Linked DNA regions of Homo sapiens: regions 1 and 2 are each linked to region 3. The links are contacts of gene promoters, found by promoter capture Hi-C in blood cells and fetal thymus (Javierre and others, 2016). All regions are on one chromosome and are shown on one strand. The core of a region is centred on a gene start or on the middle of the fragment in contact, and the rest is flanking DNA. Distances in the headings are between cores, read along the strand shown. Region 1 overlaps DARS1 (aspartyl-tRNA synthetase 1). Region 2 overlaps DARS1 (aspartyl-tRNA synthetase 1). Region 3 holds the start of CXCR4 (C-X-C motif chemokine receptor 4).

Evidence for each region. Contacts are between HindIII fragments. The CHiCAGO score rates a contact against its expected background, and 5 or more counts as called.
Region 1: a contact is called between a fragment that was not itself captured here and the fragment with the promoter of CXCR4 in region 3, in 14 of 17 cell types (activated CD4 T cells, non-activated CD4 T cells, monocytes and 11 more). The highest score is 25.4, in activated CD4 T cells.
Region 2: a fragment that was not itself captured here is called in contact with the fragment with the promoter of CXCR4 in region 3 in 8 of 17 cell types (monocytes, activated CD4 T cells, non-activated CD4 T cells and 5 more); the score reaches 9.9 in monocytes.

What each region holds. Positions count from the first base shown.
Region 1 is chr2:135,953,956-135,958,852 of GRCh38, forward strand. All of the region lies in intron 4 of DARS1 (aspartyl-tRNA synthetase 1), which reads right to left. Among named protein-coding and RNA genes, the nearest start is that of DARS1-AS1, 29 kb to the right of the region's middle. The HindIII fragment of the contact is 1,984 bases long and covers 2,031-4,014 here.
Region 2 is chr2:135,974,175-135,979,175 of GRCh38, forward strand. All of the region lies in intron 3 of DARS1 (aspartyl-tRNA synthetase 1), which reads right to left. Among named protein-coding and RNA genes, the nearest start is that of DARS1-AS1, 8.5 kb to the right of the region's middle. The HindIII fragment of the contact is 5,778 bases long and covers 1-4,198 here.
Region 3 is chr2:136,115,555-136,120,069 of GRCh38, forward strand. CXCR4 (C-X-C motif chemokine receptor 4) reads right to left here and starts at 2,595. Exons shown (of 2, transcript NM_003467.3): 1 at 2,492-2,595; 2 at 1-358. The coding sequence starts at 2,506. RefSeq lists a silencer at 1,217-1,386 and an enhancer at 1,517-1,586. The HindIII fragment of the contact is 7,141 bases long and covers 1-3,029 here.

The DNA.
Region 1 (4,897 bases), core at 1,773-4,272, 160 kb before region 3:
CATGTTGACCAGGTTGGTCTTGAACTCTTGGGCTCAAGTGATCCTCCTACCTCAGTGTCCTAAAGTGCTGGGATTACAGGCATGAGTCACCACGCCTGGCCCAGTTCTATTTTTTAAACTAAACTTTTTTCCCTTTAGTTTTGACTCGTAATACCTTGGGAGCAGTGTCTAGCTAACAAACTGTATTCTAAATGGAGCTATAATGTGGAGGGTTTTGATCTAACACCATTACACACTATTTCAGAGAGGCAGGATGACACAGAGACTAGAGTGTGAATCCAGAATCTAAGAGACCTTAGTCAAGACACTTAATATTTCACATCTCGATTTCCTCACCTGAAAACAAAAACAAAACCAAAAAAACAAAACCAAAAAAAAAAAAAAAAAAAAGAGAGAGAGAACAGAACCAACCTCCTCTCCGCCCCAAAACAAAAAAAGACAAAAACAGTATTTACACCTCATGGGGCTGTTGTGTGGATCAAGTGAGAAAAAAATCTGGCACTTTGTGGCTCCACGCTTAGTATAGAATAAGAGTCAGTTATTATAAGGGAACCTGTTATTTCCCCTGTACATCAACTGGGGAAGATGCTGGTGACCACTGTACTGTAACTTTTGGGTCTGGTACAGGGACTAACAGAGAAGAGGCATCCAAATAAGCATAAAAATCCATGCTAGACACTGGAAAGGTGGCAAAATAAAGCAAGTGTAGTTACTATACTGAGTTTTAATTTCAGATTAAGCTTCTTAAATATTAAAAATAATATTTCACATGCAACGAGTCTGGTATGTGGTAGGGGATGGGTTTTCCATGACCTTTCATCTAAAAAATACATGACACCTGCTACAGAGGTCGAGGAAGAGTAGCCCATCATTATTCACATAATCTATCAATAAACCCAAGATGACAGAAGATGGGCAGCATAACCTTTACACTAATAGTGTTACCTTTTATTTCTCATCATTCTAGGTACCACAGATTTAAGCACCTTGAAGTATTTCATTATACTAGATAGTCTCAATAAAGGCCTAAAATATAACAGAAATCCTATATATTGATGTATTCTGATTGTCTTGTTAACAGTAGGGATAAACTTGGCAGTTGGTAGAGACTGGGGGATGACCAAATTTTATTTTTGGGTAGTCATCGGCTCATATTTTTCTAAACTATTTCCATTTATTACCACCACCAAAAAAAAAAAAAAAAGTCAATAATGGTGAAAGAGACACTATGTACATTAAGTTTTTCCATTTGCGTATTTATATATCCTTATATCAACAAAAACTACTAAAATTTTTAACACAGAAACTTGACTATTAAAGATTTTCAGCAAAACCGATACATTTTTTAGCTTTCTGGTTGTCAGAAATAATGTGTTAAATCTTACTATATACTCAATGATAAATATACTTACAGATCTACATAACCACCCACATTCAAATGAGTAATTTTTAAATCTTTGCAAGGGGGGTGAAAAAAGATTAGTTAGAAAAGAGGCATGCCATAAAGTTGTCACACACCAGTTCTTCAAATAATGCACCAACATAAAATGCTTCAATGTTATAAATTAAATGTACAATTCACTGAGGCAAAGAAGTACAAAATGCCCAAACACAAGAAACCACGTATTTGCTAATTAAAACAGCATCAAAAGAACAAAAATAAATTAGGTAAGTACTTCAAAAAATAATAAAACCACCACCTTTTGAAAATAAAAATCTTTTTTTTTTTTTTTTTTTTTTTTTTTTTTTTAGACAGGGTCTCGCTCTGTCACACAAGCTGGAGTGCTGTGGCACAATCTCAGCTCACTGCAACCTTCGCCTCCCAGGTAGCTGGGGACTACAGGCTCACACCACCATGCCTGGCTAATTATTCTGACTTTTTTGGTAGAGATGATGTTTCACCATATTGCCCAGGCTGGTTTTGAACTTCTGGGCTCAAGTGATCTGCCTGCTTTGGCTTCCCAAAGTGCTGGGATTATAAGTGTGAGCCACCACGCCCAGCCATATGTTTCAATTCTAAGGTAAGCATAAGCTTCATTTATAGGTCAAGCACTTCTTTCAATTATAGTGAATTAGTACCACACTAGACCTCAGACTTTTATATTTCTCACGCAAGTAGAAATAAGTGTTTGAATCAGCATCTTAGCTTTGAAGAATGAGTTAAGATAAGCAAACAGTAAACAATGTAAGAAGTCACATGGTTGTGTCAGGGAAAACCAGAGATGGACAATACTTAAAGTGGTAAAAACAAATTTTATTCAAGATTATTGCAATAGGGGAAAAGAGATCTGAGTATAGAACTAGGCTTAACTTTGAATACACGATTGGCAAGTGGAAACTTAGACCCAAAGATGGGAATATAGAGTCAGTGGATGGAAAATTACTAAGAGGAGCCATCAGGAGAAACAGAAGATTCTGGCTAAAATGACCTAACAGGATTCTTGTTGAAGGCAGGCGAGGGTGATCAGACATCACCTGAGGGATGGTGGAGGAGAAGGAACCCAATTAGCTATGGCGGGTGATCAGATACTGAGGGGGGATGACAGGGGTTATAGTTAAAGCAACTCAGCAGGATTCTTACTAAAACTGAACAATGCAGGCATAAACATGAAGTAAAAAAGTCGAGGCTTACCGGAGCAGAAAGTTCTTTCAAAGGAATCTGAGGAGAGTTTGGTCAATGAGGGACTCTTTGTCACTAGTCAGTAGGGAACTAAATCCTTGCGTTCTCTCTACCTCTATTACACCCATCTGTCCACTGATGCTTTGCAAAAATTAAAGATTTAAATCATTCTTTAAACCATGATAACTTATTTATTTATTTTTTTTGAGATGGAGTCCTACTCTGTCGCCCAGTCTGGAATGCAATGGTGTGATCTCGGCTCACTGCAACCTCCATCCCCCAGATTCCAGCAATTCTCCTGCCTCAGCTTCCCGAGTAGCTGGGATTAGAGGCGCCTACCACCACACCTGGCTATTTTTTTTTATTTTTAGTAGAGACGGGGTTTCACCATGTTGGCCAGGTTGGTCTTGAACTCCTGACCTCAGATGATACACCCACCTTGGCCTTCCATAGTGCTGGGATTACAGGTGTGACCAACCGCGCCCGGCCTGTGATAACTTATTTTTTAAGCCAGAGTCTTGCTCTGTTGCCCAAGCTGGACTGCGGTGGCACAATCACAGCTCACTGCAGCCTGGATCTCCTGGGCTCAGGTGATTCTCCCACCTCAGCCTCCAGAGTAGATGCGACTACAGGTGCATGCAGCCATATCCTACTAATTTTTTTTTTTTTTGAGACGGAGTCTCGCTCTGTCGCCCAGGCTGGAGTGCAGTGGCACAATCTTGGCTCACTGCAACCTTCGCCTCCTGGGTTCAACCGATTCTCCTGCCTCAGCCTCCCGAGTAGCTGGGACTACATGTGCCCGCCACCATGCCTGGCTAATTTTTTGTATTTTTAGTAGAGACGGGTGTTAGCCAGGATGGTCTTGATCTCCTGACCTCGTGATCTGCCCGCCTCGGCCTCCCAAAGTACTGGGATTACAGGTATGAGCCACCACGCTCGGCCGACTAATTTAAAAAAAATTTTTTTGGTAGAGATGGGGTTTCGCCATGTTGGCCAGGCTGGTCTCAAACTTCTGGGTTCAAGTGAACGGCCCATTTTGGCCTCCCAAATTGCTGGGATTACAGGCATGAGCCACCATGCCCAGCTGATCCAAAATAAGCGTGGTGAGAAGTATGCACTACTCAACAAGGCACAGACCAGCAGTTCTAAAACTACTCTATAGGTTCTCTTTAGTGGAATAAAAAATGTCAGCAAACCCCATTAATCACTTAAATAAGTTCTGTCATGTTACTTAAAGACCTACAAATACCAAACTACTGTAAATGCTTATGCTTATAGCCCTTAACTTTAAAATAGAAATAAATTTTTAAATAAAAACAAAATTCAAATTAATAAGTAATATTAATTTTTAATTTCACTAAAACTAAATTGCTGACATTTGGTTTACTCTATAAAGCTTGTAGCCTTAGAGCCAGTTCCATAATTAATTTGTTTCTGTATTCTGACTTCAATACTAGTAATGGGAAGAATACCTGTTCAGTTACCTAAAACATTAACTTTGAGGTAGAGTCAGGATATTTCAGCTTCACAATTAACCAAAATTCTGCAAAGAGTAATCTAAGAATGACAATTTAAATAAAGTATCAGTCAATCATTTTATAAAACTGTCTTACTTATGTGAAAGTTAATGTGGCATTGTTAGTTAAAATTTGTATCAAATGAATTATCAAGTATCTGAACTTAACTGGAACTAGAAATAGAAACATTTTTCCTTGCATCCAACTGTTATACTACTAGTGATCTGCTGCCTAAACAAGTGACCTCAAAGATAAATGTATGAAAGCTACCTTAATTTTTGCTTTCACAATTTTAGCGCATACCCATTTTATGCGCTAAAACACAGTTAACAATTTTTAGGAAAAGGATTTTAAAAGACAAAGAAAAACCCCATATATCTTTTCCCTAAAAAAGTTCTAAAAAGTTCTTGCCGAAGTCTAAAAGTAGACTTCTCCTACCAAGAAGGATCAGGATTTCTGAACTATCTTAGAAGTATAGGTTACATCACACAGAAAGGACAAACTGACTGACCCATCTGGAACATAAAATCATGTTCCTAAGAAAATTATCTTAACCAACTACAAAACCTAAAAACTCATCATTTTTTGCCAACGAGTCTTAGCCATAAGAATTTTCCTTTTTCGCAAGATAGCAAAAGCCATTAACCCACCTACTGGTAATTATTCAGGCTCGATTCCTTAACATGCTAGTGCCAAAAGTTTAATAATAGTTATCTATGTACCACATGTTGAACCTATTGTATAAAATTGGCTCCATTCA
Region 2 (5,001 bases), core at 60-2,559, 140 kb before region 3:
AACATTACTGTGTTTGACTTTAATTGGGAATGTGTGTACTGGATGACGCAAATACTCTGCCACTCTGCACATGTACAGGTCTGGCATGACTGAGAATGACCACAAAAGTGCTGCAAGTGTTCTGGGGTTATAAATACATTTTAGCCAGTAGGTGAATTTGCGAATATGCAGTCCACGAATAATGAGGATCAACTACGTTAAAATTTATTTTATTACACAGAAAATTTCCAACAAACACAAAAGCAGAGTGAATAGTATAATGAACCTCTCTACATATACATCACATAACACAATTATATTTTGAAGGGAAGAAATGCTAGAAAAAGGTCTGATAAAATTCAACATCTCCTCCTGACAAACAGAAAACTTGGCTGGGAAACTACTTTTAATCTACTTTTTAAAACTTTGCCATTTATTTTCTAATGACATTTTATGTAGAACCTTAAACTCAAAATCATTCATTTAGAACTGGAATTTCTGCTCTTTCAAAAATTCTTCATTGTGTGAATCCCTGAAGTACTAGAGAACCTACTAGTATTGCAAAGAGAAACAAGAAATGAGATACAAACATTTGAAAGAAAAGGACATAATGATCATCATTTGTAATGCCTCTCTTCGCCTCAAAAAACTGAAATGCAAACAGACTTGGAGAAAATTATTTGTTCTTTTTTAATAAAATAGGAACAGGGCAAGAACAAACAATATATAAAAGAAGTTCAAAATAGTTAACATATCAGGAAAAGAAGTTTAATCTAACCAATGACTGAAACACAAATTAAAGCAACAATGGATAAATCTGAACTTTATACAAATGAGAAAAATAAAATATATGTAAAAAAATATAGCCATACTATGAAATACTATGAAACCATTAAAAAACAATGATGCGGCCGGGCATAGTGGCTCACGCCTGTAATCCCAGCACTTTGGGAGGCTGAGGTGGGTGGATCACAAGGTCAGGAGATCGAGACCATTCTGGCTAACATAGTGAAACCCCGTCTCTACTAAAAATACAAAAAAATTAGCCGGGCGTGGTGGCAGGTGTCTGTAGTCCCAGCTACTTGGGAGGCTGAGGCAGGAGAATGATGTGAACCTGGGAGGCGGAGTTTGCAGTGAGCGGAGACTGTGCCACTGCACTCCAGCCTGGGCGACAGAGCGAGACTCTGTCTCAAAAAACAAACAAACAAAAAAAACCTATACGCACAGACATGAAAAGATATCCAAAAGATAAAGAAAAGTGCAAGTTATAAAATAATACAGAGTATTATAAAAATTTTAGCTCAAACACACATATACACTCACATTGACCCTCAACTTCCTCATAAAAACAAATCTGAGGCTGGGTACAGTGGCTGAAGCCTGTAATCCCAGCACTTTGGGAGGTCGAGGTAGGCAGATCACCTGAGGTCAGGAGTTTGAGACCACCCTGGCCAACATGGTGAGACCCTTGTCTCTACTAAAAATACAAAAATCAGCTGGGCATGGTGGCGCATGCCTGTAGTCCTAGCTAAGGAGGCTGCAGTGAACCGAGACCACACCACTGCACTCCAGCCTGTGTGACAGGGCAAGACCCTGACTCAAAAAAAAAAAAAAAAAAGCCCTCATCTCTACTAGAAATACAAAAATTAGCTGGATGTGGTGGCAGGTACCTGTAATCCCAGCTACTTGGGAGGCTGAGGCACGAGAATTGCTTCAACCCAGGAGGCAGAGGTTGCAATGAGCTGAGATTGCCTCACTGCACTCCAGCCTGAGTGACAGGGCAAGACTCCACCTCAAACAAACCAACCAAAAAAACCCACAAATCTGTAAAGAAGGATTACAGTCAGTTTTCCACTTTATACCTGATTTAATTCTATAATGCTTGAGTATTTAACAAAAAATGGTTATTACTTTTATAATCTAGAATAAATTTTTCAATTTTGCAAATTAAAAATATTGTAAATGATCATGTAGAGCTACATAAAACACTGATACAGCATATGAACTCACTTTTGTAAAAGAAAAAGTATCAATTTTTGTTTAAAGCAATTTCTATCATTTCAAACTTTCACAGTGTTTTTATTCTCTTGGGAGCAGAACAAGTGAATTACACTTTCTGCTTTATTCTTTAGTTTTTGTGCTGTTTGAGTTTTAAAATAGTGCAATTAGCATTTAGCCCCTCCAAAATTCCCCAATACCCATAAATAATTTATTTTTTTGAGATAGAATAACAGTTAATATACTAATAAAAAGTGCTATGAAATTCCTCAATTAAAAACTCTTAAGAAAGTTTTAAACCGTTCAGTCTGTTCATAACATTGACACTCATAAATTCTCCCTATCCACCCACCATGATTAGCTCATATCATCAATAAAGTCCTTACACCTTGCAATTTGTTTCATGTTTTGAGGCAGGAGGCACTATCAATTAAGAGACTAAAATAATTTGTCACAAATGGAAAAAAAAACACTAGCAGATGGTACAGGAAGAACATTCTCAAATCCGAAAATGTGCAATGTTTCAAAATCCAAAAACTTTTTGAGTGCCGACATGACTCTCAAAAAACATGCTCATTGGAGCATTTTGGATTTCAGATTTGGGATGCTCAGCCAGTAATGCAAATATTCCAAAAAAAAAAAAAAAAAAAATCCAAAATCCAAAACACTTCCAGTCCCAAGCATTCTGGATAAGGGATACTCAACCTGTATATTTTTTCACTTACGTGATGCTTCATACTTACATGCTGATCTCAATTAGAGTGAGCTACTGGACAGCAAGAACAAGACCCAGAAGACAATGCTCTATTATATGTGTATAAAACACCTGTTTTATTCATCTATTATTCGGTAGGGTTCTTATTATGTGTTGTGTACCAAACAAAGCAAGAAAATAAGCAGTAGCACCTTCCAAGAGCTGACAACAGGAAATAAGACCCACAAAAAACTACGATGGAAGGCAAGTAAGTAACTGTCATGCTCATTAACATGACTCAATTATCGAAGGCTTACACTGCACCAAGCATAGAGCTAAATACTTTATAAATATTACTACATAACATCTTATAAGCTAGGTATTAATATATACTTGTTTTAAGAGAAGACACTGAGGATTGGAAAGGTTATGCAATTTGCGTAGAGTAAACAGATTGTAAGCACAAATCCAGGATTCAAACACACATCTGTCTCACTGAAAAGGTCTTATTCATAACCACTGGGAAGTATCACTCATGAGTTTTAACTGTTAAGAAGAAACAGACATGGCAGTCGTAAAATAAAGGGATGGGTGTGAAGGGAAATATTCTTGGTTCAGGCTTACTTGTAGCATGCATTCTATCTTTTAATTTGCTAAATTACTATGTTTAGGAAAAAGTGCCCCATTTGGACAGAACAAAGGCTCTCAGTATAACGGGAGAGAGACGAGTAAATGAAGGATTATAATACAATGTGACTGACTATTGGCAGAATAAATGGCCCAACCTTTCAGGAAGGCAAATCAACATTATTTGAAAATTTAAAACTCCACCAGTACTCTTCTCAAAGTCTGTCAGTATTCATCAGGGGAGGATACTGAAAGAATAGACAAACTCTTAACAATGGTGGCCCTAAGAGTGAAATGTATGTATAAAGTGCTGGAATTTTAAAAATAATGGGCATGTATTAATTCTACAATAAAAAAATTATAAAACACAATTAAGAAATGCTCTATCGGCTGGGTGCAGTGACTTATGCCTGTAATCCCAGCACTTTGGGAGGCCAAGGCGAGAGGATCACCTGAGGTCGGGAGTTCAAGACCAGCCTGGCCAACATGGTGAAACTCTGTCTCTACTAAAAATGCAAAACTTTGCCAGGCATGGTGGCGCATGCCTGTAATCCCAGCTACTTGGGAGGCTGAGACAGGAGAATCACTTGAACCCTGGAGGCAGAGATTGCAGTGAGCCGAGATCGCAACACAGCACTCCAGCCTGGGTGACAGAGCAAGACTCTGTCTCAAAAAAAAAAAAAAAAAAAAAAAGAAAAAAAGAAAAAAGGAAAGAAATGCTATATATCATGGGACATATTAAATACTATAGAAGCAAAGTAGAATTTTTAAAATAATGGGCATGTATTAATTCTACAATAAAAATATTATAAAACACAATTAAAAAATGCTATTATCATGGGACATATTAAATACTACAGAAGCAAAGAACTCTGCTAAAGAGACGGAGATGTCTTAGAAAGCTTCTAGCTTCTGTTTATACTCCACCAATTACTATGAGACTTTGGGCAAGTAGCTTCATTCTGAACGTGTTTCCTCATTTATAAAGTGGAATAGGAATGCTTGTTCTGCCTACTTCACAAACTTGCAGGGATGATCAAATGTGAAAAAGTATGAAAAGTATAAAGTTATAAACTAGTGTGTCAATTGATATTTTTAGACAATTCTGAACACTACAGTAGGCCAATTTTCTATAAGAACAGGGTCTGTCTAAATGATCCTAACGTTTCTTCTCTGTTGTTGAGGCTAAATTTTTAGCACTGTCTGAAAGAACTTTCTATGATGAGAATATTCTGTATTTGTGCTGTCTGTCCAAAATGGGAGCCGTTAGCCACATGTGGTCATTAAGCTCTTGAAATACAGCTAGTGTGACGGAATTACTGAATTTAAATGTAAATAGCTGCATGTGGTCAGTGGTTACTGTATTGAATTGCCCAGTCTTATCTTTTGTTCACTTCTCTCCTCATCTAGATAATTACAAATATAAAAATATTAACAAACGGGAAGTTTCTCAAAAACACTCTTCACTTAAATAATTAAAGTTTACTCTTTTTTTTCAATTTTTTTTTTTTTTTAGCTACTCCTTCTCCAGCTGAAAATAATTAAACTTTAGAGCGATGCTAGAAAAGTAGCTTGAAGTCTTAGATTTCATCAGTCTTTAGGGTCAAATTATTTGTAAGGATGTTTTACAGGAATCTAAAATTGATTAACCATGGGTTAATACTTTACAGTGACTTTTAAGAAAGAAAAGTTACATGTTTTTG
Region 3 (4,515 bases), core at 1,345-3,844:
GGACACTGCTGTAGAGGTTGACTGTGTAGATGACATGGACTGCCTTGCATAGGAAGTTCCCAAAGTACCAGTTTGCCACGGCATCAACTGCCCAGAAGGGAAGCGTGATGACAAAGAGGAGGTCGGCCACTGACAGGTGCAGCCTGTACTTGTCCGTCATGCTTCTCAGTTTCTTCTGGTAACCCATGACCAGGATGACCAATCCATTGCCCACAATGCCAGTTAAGAAGATGATGGAGTAGATGGTGGGCAGGAAGATTTTATTGAAATTAGCATTTTCTTCACGGAAACAGGGTTCCTTCATGGAGTCATAGTCCCCTGAGCCCATTTCCTCGGTGTAGTTATCTGAAGTGTATATCTGCAAAAGAGGCAAAGGAATGGACATTCACTTCCAATTCAGCAAGCATTAACCCAGTTAAAAAAAATTTTTAAAGCAATTTAAAAAACCAATTCAGGCTTGCTTTCTTCAGGAAATTCTGAAGTAGTGGGCTAAGGGCACAAGAGAATTAATGTAGAATCCTACAACTCTCCTCCCCATCTTTTCCCATAGTGACTTCATTATATCCTTCTTTGGTAGAACCAATTACAAAATTCTTTGTTTAGAACAAAAGGGCACTGAGACGCTGAGGGTTTCAAAGTCACATCTTGGCTAACTCCTCTGCCCCGCCCACTAGAGGGAAGAAAAAAAACCTTCCTTAGGAGGAAAAAAAAAATACACACAAAGAGGCCACTCCCAGGCGGCGTGGGGGGTGGGGTGGGTGCTGCTAGGAGGGGCAGTGATTAACTTTTTGTAAGAAGTTTTTCGCCCAGGGAGGGAAGAGGGGAGAAGGGAGGATCACGGGGGGAGGGCGGGGGCGTTGCAAAGACTCATTCTCCTAAAGCGCAAAAACTTAATTTTCCCACGCCTGCCTAAATACAAACCATTCTGGGCTTCAAGCAACTTGTAGTGGGTAAAGAGAATGCGGTCTTAAAACGAAGGCCCTTCGGTGCTTGGGGTATATTGGGCGGGAGTGTCAGAAAATGAACAAACGGCACCTCCTCCCCCAAGCGGGCGCTCCTCCGGTGTGTGGGTCTCTTGCCATCCTCGTGTTTATCACTTGGCGCGTTTGGGACGTTAGGGAGCGGGGCATTTTCCTGGGTGGAGAAGGTAACGGGGTCTGCACCCGTGGTCCTCGCCCCAAGTTTCATTTCCTCACTCTCCCGGGTGGCTTCCCATTACCCCGCCACTGATCCAGTTAACCCGGCCGGAGGTGGGCAGCTGGAAGCCTCCAGGCGGTGGGCACGCGGGGGGCCGGGTCGTCCAGCCCCGGGCCGCCGCGGCTGCCCACTACACCCACGCCAACCGCCCGCAAGCAGCGCTGCAGGGGCTCCGCTGGGCGACACGCCAGGCTCTGTCCCACAGGGTGCTGGGGAGCGACTGGGCGGCTCCGCCGCGAGCGTCTTTGAATTGCGCGCCGCTGCAGGAAACCAAAAACTCCCTAGCAAGAGGGTTTCAAAAGGTTTCTGGAAACCACCGACGGTTAAACATCACAACTGGACTCGGAGAGAGCCAAACGGTTTCCCCACTTGCACCTGCCAGTCTTCGCGGCGGCGACCTGGCAGCCCAGGTGCGGTCTTAACCGCCCCCGCCCCTCACCCCGTACCCGCTCCTATCCCCGGAGCGCAAATCTCAGGGCTGGCAGCTGCGCGGTGTCAAAGGGGAGGTCAAACCACTCCGCTGACCTCTGCACGACCCCAAACTCTCGAACTGCAGGACCCACTCGCGGCCGTGGGGAAGAGGCGCGCTTCGGACGGCGGGAAGGTTTTCCCCCTCAAACCCAAAGCGCGCGGGCGGATCAACTCCTAGCTGCTGCCACCACTCGATCCCCTCAGAGGATCGGCGCGGTGGGTCCACCCGCCTCTCCCGCCCTCTGCCTACTGTGCTGGGAGACTGGCACAGCTCCGTCGGCCGCACAGAGTTTAACAAACACGCACCCAGTGTCAAGAACAGTCACCAGGCGCTTAACCCCGAAGTTAAAGCGGGCGCAATCTCCTCCTGGGAACTCAGCCCAGGCACGCCGCCCTCCGCCTCTAAATTCAGACAATGTAACTCGCTCCAAGACATCCCCGCTTCCCCAAGGAAGAGACCGGTGGTCTGAGTCCCGAGGCAGCGCGCACGCCTTCTCTGCACTTGTGCACAGAATGTTCTTACGTTTGCAAACAGCGTGCAAGCCGCCGCGCGCGGCGGGACTCAAGGGGGAGACACATGCAGCCACTGGAACGCTCTTTCCAGTCGTTTCTCCTCGACTCACAGAGAAAAAGATTCCAATCCTGCTCCCCCCCCACCCACCCGCACTATATAGGCATGGTCAAGAAAACTCCTTTCGGTGACCCTTTTTTGGAGTACGGGTACCTCCAATGTCCTGGCCGCTTCTGCCCGCTCGGAGAGGGGCTGCGCTCTAAGTTCAAACGTTTGTACATTTATGACAAAGCAGGTTGAAACTGGACTTACACTGATCCCCTCCATGGTAACCGCTGGTTCTCCAGATGCGGTGGCTACTGGAGCACTCAGGCCCTCGGCGTCACTTTGCTACCTGCTGCCGCAGCCAACAAACTGAAGTTTCTGGCCGCGGCCGGACTTTTATAAAAACACGCTCCGAGCGCGGCGCATGCGCCGCTGGGGCGGGGAGGGAGAAGGCGGGGTGGGGGAGAGGGGCAGACGCGAGGAAGGAGGGCGCAGGGGCGGGGCGGAGAGGTGCGCGGCTTGGGAAGCCCAGGGGACCCTGCTGTTTGCGGGTGGTCGGTAGTGAGTCCGGAGCCGGACAGGACCTCCCAGAGGCATTTCCTAAGTTTGAGGGAAGCGGGATGCGCCTGAAGACAGGTGGGAAGCGCGGGCTAGGAACGCGTCTCTCTGTGGCGCGTCCATCCTTGCTAAAGTGGATGGAATTCCAGACCTGGGAATGCTACAGTAGAGACACTGAGGCCCAGGGAAGGGGAGTGACTTGCTGGAGTAACCCAACCAGTAGGCGGCAATGCTGGAAGTAGGGCCAAGCTTCCAACGCCATTCCCCGCGCTTTCAGCAGACGCAGCCCATTCAGGAGGTAAAAGGAGTAAAGATCCTTCCTTCGGAGGATGTAGCTATACTTGCACATTCACAGCATCACTAGGGTCAGGTGCAGATAATTAGGAGATACTTTCAGAAGAAGGTAGGATTTGGCATAATTCTGGAGACTGATCAGATGTAGATATGTATTGCTCAGTAATTTCATAATAGCGGTAACCAATTCGCGAATAGTGCTTTATTATCCTAAAAGTATGCTTTATTATAAGAGTAATTTAGCGACCAGTACTTTTTGTAACAGATCACTAGGAACTTGCACAGAATCACTCATTCATTCTCACAACACCGTGTGGGTATTACCATCACAGAGATGCATTTAGTCCGATATTTATAGAAGGACGAACTGCGTGCCACGCACTGTTCTAGGCGTTGGGGATCCAGCGTGAACCAGACAAGGCCCGCATTCGGAGAAACCAGCAAATAAGCCCGGAGAGATGAAATGCCAGGGATGGGCAGGGATTCCAAGCCGGGCTTGAACCCAGGTCTTCGGTCCCCATACTCGGCGTCTTCCACGATTTTGAGCAGAGGACAAGCTTTGGCACGAATCAGAAATTAGGTTGAAGAACTGGGCGGGGCGGAGTGGGGGTGGGGGTCAGACGTTTAAAGCGATCTCAGACTGGCTGAGGTTTGCAGTGGGCGCGCAGACAGTGCTTTCCCCCTCGCGCCACTTCCCTCCGGCGCGGAGACTGGGTGGGGCGGGGGAGCGAGTGTGGGGCGGGGCCGAGAAACTGCGTCCGCAGGCGGGGTGGCCGCTGCGGAGATAGCTGGGACCGAGGCGCGTGCGTCGCGACACGGACCCCAGAGGCCCCCACCCCGAAATGGTCCCGAGGAGAGGGATTGCCCAGACTGCACTCTACACACGATCCCTCTTTTCTATATCAAAAGAGGAAACATTTCAGTCTGGAGTGTTCCAGAGGTAGTTCGGAGGCAGGGAACCTTTTCTCTACAGAGCATGACTTTCCCCCTTTGTCTGGGACCCCTCCCTAATGTTGGTGGTTAAAGGTTCTCATCTACTCTGCACTTTCACTGACACAGGAAAGATGATATCCGGGCCGGGAGATGGGACTCTCAGAAACGAACGAGTTAGGACACACACTAATGGCCAGATAAAATCAATTCTAATATTACATTTGTAGAATTAAAAAAAAAAAAAGAAACTCCAGGTTCTTGGAGGGTGGTGGCTGGAAGAGGTTTCGGAAGCTCCACGCCCCTTCTCACAGGCCTTGCATTACGTATCTCTTCATCTGTATCCTTTATAATATCCTTTATAATAAACGATAACGGTAAGAAATAAAAATGAAAATAAAACCGTAAAAACACTTTTACTTTTTTCGAATCTTTAATAAAACTTAAGGATCTTCATATTTTTATAGACACGGTAGATCCTATCTACTGAAGGTCTAGAATTTCAGAGC